2 separate regions of the Homo sapiens genome follow, and region 2 is linked to region 1. Evidence: promoter capture Hi-C in 16 types of primary human blood cells and fetal thymus (Javierre and others, 2016). All regions are on one chromosome and are shown on one strand. Each heading gives the region's core, a stretch centred on a gene start or on the middle of the fragment in contact. The rest is flanking DNA. Distances are from core to core; before and after follow the strand shown.

The links. The method cuts DNA at HindIII sites, captures the fragments that hold promoters and counts their contacts. A CHiCAGO score of 5 or more calls a contact.
Region 2: a contact is called between a fragment that was not itself captured here and the fragment with the promoter of EFCAB14 in region 1, in 1 of 17 cell types (erythroblasts). The highest score is 6.2, in erythroblasts.

What each region holds. Positions count from the first base shown.
Region 1 is chr1:46,717,801-46,720,866 of GRCh38, forward strand. EFCAB14 (EF-hand calcium binding domain 14) reads right to left here and starts at 1,314. Exons shown (of 11, transcript NM_014774.3): 1 at 103-1,314. The coding sequence starts at 287. RefSeq lists silencers at 1,119-1,168, 1,489-1,538. The HindIII fragment of the contact is 11,051 bases long and covers 1-3,066 here.
Region 2 is chr1:47,337,579-47,340,821 of GRCh38, forward strand. All of the region lies in intron 1 of CMPK1 (cytidine/uridine monophosphate kinase 1), which reads left to right. Among named protein-coding and RNA genes, the nearest start is that of CMPK1, 5.4 kb to the left of the region's middle. The HindIII fragment of the contact is 166 bases long and covers 1,260-1,425 here.

The DNA.
Region 1 (3,066 bases), core at 64-2,563:
CTTTTTTCTTCCTAAGGACTTCCTTTCTCCTTCCTGTCAATGTGGCCCCTTGGTAGTGCAAGGAGATGCCTTCTTCCCATTCCACCTTTCACCACTACTCACTTGGCAAAGCGAGAGCGATTTCCAACCACACCGAATTCCTCTTCCTCTTCGGAGCTGGACTCAGAGTCTGAGTCGGGAGGCTCAGTGCGAAGCAGGCGGTGACTGCTTGGGCCTTTCTTGGGCTTCTTTCTCCGGCTGTCCCCAGCCAAACCAATCAATGCATTGAGCTCTTTGCGCTTTTTCATCTTTTTGTGTGGGGTGAGTGGAGCCCCGACTCCTGAGCTGCCAGGTTCGTACCCGATGCCCAATTCTCTTCCTGCCTTGGAGCTGCCTTCCAGGGTTGGGAATCCTGGGCCAGAGCCCCCTGGTCACTCCCACCTAGGGGTGGGACTGACCAGATCCGCCAGGGACTGGAGATTGGAGCCCAGAGGAAACTGGAACTCAGATGGGTGGGGGAAATCACATAGAAATGGCCAAGGAGCTGGTGACCCCAAAGGATAAGGCCTTGGGTGCAGAGTGTTAGTAGAGGGTGGAGAGGGACCTTTATCTCCCAAAGGGCGAAAAAAAAGCCAGGTCAAAAATGAAGGATTCTCAGCCCGGATAAGTAGGCAATACTTCTAAGGGTGCTCCAGGAGGTGAGGAAGGGCACGCTTAAAATACGTGTTTCGGACCTCCGGAGCAAGATTTCCAATGGAGAGGGAAGAGAAACTCGTTCTTGAATGGGAAGAGAGTGGGGAGGTGCAGAGTAAGAAAGTGGGAACGCGTCAGTCCCTTCCTTGCAGGAGAGGTGGCGGCAGGAGGGGGCTCCCAGCAGCTACAATCCCAACACTGCTTGGCCGCAGAGAAAATGCCCTGGCCAGGAAGCCGGCTGGGGTGTGTGATGATCACCGTTCTCCGGCCTCCGTCCTGAACGTGAAGGGGGCCCGAGGCCGAGGAAGATCCGGAGCCCGGCTAGAAGGGTCGGCCTGAGAGAAGCCAGTCCCGCGCCTGATAGACCCCCGCCCCGCTGTCTGGGCCTTGGGGACACGGTGCCGCGGGCGACGGCGGCTCGGCCGACCGAAAGCGCTCCCGCCCGGAGTTTGAGGTCTCCGGCACGGGCAACTCTCGGCCACTCACACGCGCAGGCCCCACTCCAGCCGCGACTCCGGCCCCTGCTCCGGCTTCGGCCGCGGCTGCTCCCGACACGTTGTTGTTGGCGTTGGTGGCGGCGGCTGCGGCGGCGGCGGCCGCGAGCTCCAGCCCCGGGCCATCGCTCCAGCCCCAGATCACTTCCCCTTTGGCAGCGGCCGCCTGCGCCGCCTGCCAGTAAGCCGCACTCCCATTGGTCGCCCGCTGGGGTGACGTCACGCCGGGGCGAAAGTCGTGGCGGAGAGGTGGGGCGTTAAAGGGGCCCTGCCCCGGCTGGGGCTGGGTCCCACCTGCCGATTAGGGTGGCCCCGCCCCCAGGAGGGCTTCCGGGACCTGCTGCGAACCTGAGCCGGGTGGAGTCCTGCATCCTGCGGAGCGCGGGCGGGGCAGGCAAAGCGCCCGGCTGCTCGACCTACTTCGAAAGTTCATCAGCCGCCCACGCCCCCTGGACTAACCAAGTCTGAAGGCTCCGCCTCTCTGACTCTCACACAGGCTGTTAAAAGTTTAGGCGCGTTTCAGATTAATTAACACATTCATTCAGTCAATAAATATTTATTGAGAGCTTACTTACTACGTGTCAGGAGCTGTTCTAGCGCTGGGGATACAGCCATGAACAAAATAACCAGGGTCCTTGTCTTCCTGTATAGTGTTGCCAGATTTAGCAAATAAAAATGTAGGACACCCAGTAAAGTTTGAATTTCAGAGAAACAGCAAACAATTTTTTAGCATTAAGACATCCCATGCAACATCTGGGACATCCTCACACTAAAAAATTATTCATTGTGTATGTGAAATGCAAGTTTAACTGAGCATCGTGTATCTTATCTGCCAATCTATTCCTGCAGTTTATTTATACTCTAGAGGGAGGAGAGCAACAATAGGCAAACATATTAAATGTCAGGAGGTGATAAGTGTTATGATGAAAATTGAAACACGGTCAGGTGATGGGGAGTGCCTCTGTGAAAAGGGAACATTTAGTCAGCTTATCGGAGGAGAGGTGAGGGAATGAGCTGTGCAGTGGCTGCAGGAAGGAGTGACCAGGAAGACCTGTTGTGGCTGGACCAGAAGAGCAAGGAGCAGAGTGATAGGAAATGAGGTCAGAGAAGCATCAGAGGCCAGGGCTTTAGGGCCTTATGGATCACTGAAAGGACTTTGGGAAAGCACTGGGGGCTTTAAGCTGAGAGGTAGCATACTCTGGCTTTTCCGTAAAAAAAAAAAAAAAAAAAAAAATTCACTCTGGGCCAGCGCGATGGCTCACGCCTGTAATCCCAGCATTTTGGGAGGCTGAGGTGGGCGGATCACAAGGTCAGGAGATGGAGACCATCCTGGCCAATATGGTGAAACCTTGTCTCTATTAAAAATACAAAAATTACCTGGGCGTGGTGGTGCGCGCTTGTAATCCCAGCTACTTGGGAGGCTGAGGCAAGAGAATGGCTTGAAACCGGGAGGCGGAGGTTGCAACAAGCCGAGATTGCACCACTGCACTTCAGTCTGGCAACAGAGCGAGACTCCGTCTCAAAAATAAATAAATAAATAAATAAATAAATAAATAAATAAATAAATAAATAAATAAAATAAAATAAAATAAAGGAAAAAATTACTCTGGCTACTTTGTAGAAAAAAGTGGGGGGAGAGTGAGGAACACAGGAGAGCAGTTTGTTACAGTCCAGCTAGAGATGATGCTGATAGATTAGAGAGGCAGTAGCAGAGATGGAGAGCATTCTGGATGTTTCTTGAAGACAGAGCTGACAATTTTTGCTGATAGATTAGATGAAAGGTGTGAAGAGAAGAGAGGGTTTGGCGGTGGAAACACTGGAAGCAAGGAATTGTTATTTATTGAGATGGGGTAGAGCAAGTTTGGGACAAGTTTGACAAGCCAATTCAATATTCAAATGG
Region 2 (3,243 bases), core at 93-2,592, 620 kb after region 1:
TATTCCCTAGCTGGCTAGACAGACACTGGAATATCTATTTTTTTTTTTTTTTTGAGACGAAGTGTCACGCTGTCGGCCAGGCTGGTGTGCAGTGGGGCAATCTTGGCTCGCTGCAGCCTCCATCTTCTGGATTCAAGCGATTCTCTGCCTCAGCCTCCCGAGTAGCTTGGACTACAGGTGCGCGCCACCATGCCCGGCTAATTTTTGTATTTTTAGTAGAGACGGGGTTTCACTATGTTGGCCAGGCTGGTCTCGAACTCCTGACCTCGTGATCCACCCACCTTGGCCTCCCAAAGTGCTGGGATTACAGGTGTGAGCCACTGTGCCCGGCCTGGAATATCTATTGTTAGTGAAGTCAGCGGTATGTTGTTTTTTTCCTTTGTGAATCTCTTTATTTTGACTCAATATTTTTTTATACAGGCAATTATAAACTAAATTCCAAAATAATGTAAGTTTTGGAGGTTTTTTTCCTGTAGGAAAAAAATTACATAAATCCACGGTAAATTCTCCAATTAATCTGGCTGAAGCTAATGCAGCTCACAGGGCACCTGAAATTGTTACTTTAGTATGTTGATTTCCAACTCAGGCTGCCAGAAGTACATATTTGAGTCCTAGCTACAGAATCTTCAGTTGACAGGAAGAGAAGAAAAAGAGAAAACCAAAAACCCTTAGGGATATCTTGCTCTCTAAGGCACTGAAATTAGTGAAGTGGGTATTGTTAGAGGGAAGCTGGTATTTTTTCTCTGGAGGTGAATTCTGCTCTGCAAATTGCTCCTGGAGACCTAGAGAAGGTAAAGGCAAATCTGATACAGTGTCTTCTGAGAGTGTTCTGTACTGGGAAGGAAAGATTGGAGGGAGGTTTTGGGATTGATTTTGCACATTTATTTGTACTGATGTTTTTCAGTTTTGTTTGCTTTTCTCCTTCCTTCCTTCCTTCCCTCCCTCCCTCCCTCTCTCCTTCCCTCCCTCCCTCTCTCCTTCCCTCCCTCCCTCTCTCCTTCCCTCCCTCCCTCCTTCCTGTTCTTTCTTTTTCTTCTTTTCTTTTTTTTTTACCAAATACCCAGACTTGGAGAATTTGTTTTATTTTCTAATTGTTTGTAAATCTGTATCCTCTAATACTGAATTTGTTTTTGAAAATGAGCTATTTTCTAAATCAGTGTGATACTTAGAGTTAAGTTTCCAGAATGGAATTATTGTGCAATAATTTAGTTATAAAATCATGATGGGAATACTGTGTCATTCTTGAATTTTTAAAATTAAGCTTTATTTATATTTGTTGTTTTGGCCCAAATGAAATTATGTCAATGTAACCTAAATTTATATTTGAAAATAACCACCATTTTACATGCATTAGTTGGAAGAAATATTTAAACCTCTCTTTTAAAGATTGTGAACATTTTGCTTACATAAACAAATTATGACTAAAGCTTATAACCATGCCAAATTGCTTTCTGTAGCACCCAGAAAACTTTTTTTTTTTTTTTTGAGAGAGGGTCTCACTCTGTTGCCCAGGCTGAAGTACAGTGGTGTGACCTCAGCTCACTGCAACCTCCGCCTCCTGGGTTCAAGAGATTCTCCTGCCTCAGCCTCCCAAGTAGCTGGGACTACAGACACATGCCACCATGAATGCCATGTTGGCCAGGCTGGTCTCGAACTTCTGACCTCAGGTGATCCACCTGCCTCAGCTTCCTAAAGTACTGAGATTACAGGCATGAGCCTTTGCGCCTGGCCTCACCCAAGAAGCATTTTATCATCTGTGTCAACTTCCTCCAGGGCCTGTGTGGGTAACTCTTACTTTGCCTGGCCATCCTACTTACTGCACTTAGAAAAAGTTTTGGATGATAATTGACTTTAAGCATATATAAATCAGAAACTTGATTTCATTTATCTTTGTGTCCCCAGTGTTGAACATTGTGCCTGACACATAGTAACTGCTTATTAAGCACTTATTGAATTATAAGTTGAATACGTTGGATTCATAGAGTTTATTGTTTGTCCTGAAGATGTAAAATTTTTAAAAATTCGATCCCCAGAGGGCGCTCCAGTGGCAGTTGGCTCTCCCATTTTAAGGACCAGAAGTGTTTGAATGTCTTCCTCTGATTTCTTTTTCTTTCTTCCTTTCCTTTTTTTTTTTTTTTTTTTTTTTTAAGACAGAGCCTTACTCTGTCGCCCAGACGGGAGTGCAGTGGCATGATCTCGGCTCACCGCAGCCTCCGCTTCCCGGGTTCAAGCGATTCTCCTCCCTCAGCCTCCTGAGTAGCTGCAATTACAGGCACCCACCACAACGCGTGGCTAATTTTTGTATTTTTAGTAGAGATGGGGTTTCACCATAATGGCCAGGCTGGTCTCAAACTCCTGACTTCAGGTGATCCGCCTGCCTCAGCCTCCCAAAGTGCTGGAATTACAAGCGTGAGCCACCGCATCCGGCTGCCCTCTTCCCTCCCCTCCCCTTCCCTTCCCTCCCCTCCCCTCCCCTCCCCTCCCCTTTCCCTTTCTTTCCTATTTATTTATTTATTTATTTGAGATGAGCTCTCCCTCTGTTGCCCAGGCTGCAGTGCAGTGGCACAATCGTGGCTCATTCTCACTGCAGCCTCCACCTCCCAGGCTCAACTGATCTTTCCACCTCAGCCTCCCAAGTTGCTAGGTCTACAGGTGCATGCCACCATGCCCAGCTAATTTTTTTTATTTTGTAGAAATGGGGTCTCCCCAGAGCAAGACTCCGTCTCAAAAAAAAAAAAAAGAGAAATGGGGTCTCCCTATGTTGCACAGGCTAGTCTCAAACTCCTGGATTCAAACGATCCTCCCACCTCAGTCTCCAAAGTGCTGGGATTGCATCGTAAGCCAGCGTACCCAGCCTGTCTTCCTCAGATTTCTCATGTAACACTTTTGTTTACTCTCAATGAATGAATCAATGATATGGTTGTGAAAATCTGCTGAGCAGATTTCCAAGCTCCTCATTACAAATTCTCAAACAGAGCAGCATTCAGAAGAAACTAGATAGGAAAATCCACTGGATATTAAGGTCCAGTGTTTAAGAATATGCTTCTTTCCTTCTGGTGGAATAATAATTTTTTTTTTTTCGAGGCAGAGTTTGAGTTGCCCAGGCTAGAGTGCAGTGGCACGATCTTGGCTCACCACAACCTCTGCCTCCTGGGTTCAAGCGATTCTCCTGCCTCAGCCTCCTGAGTAGTTGGGATTACAGGCATGCGCCACCATGCCCGGCTAATTTTGTATTTTTAGTAG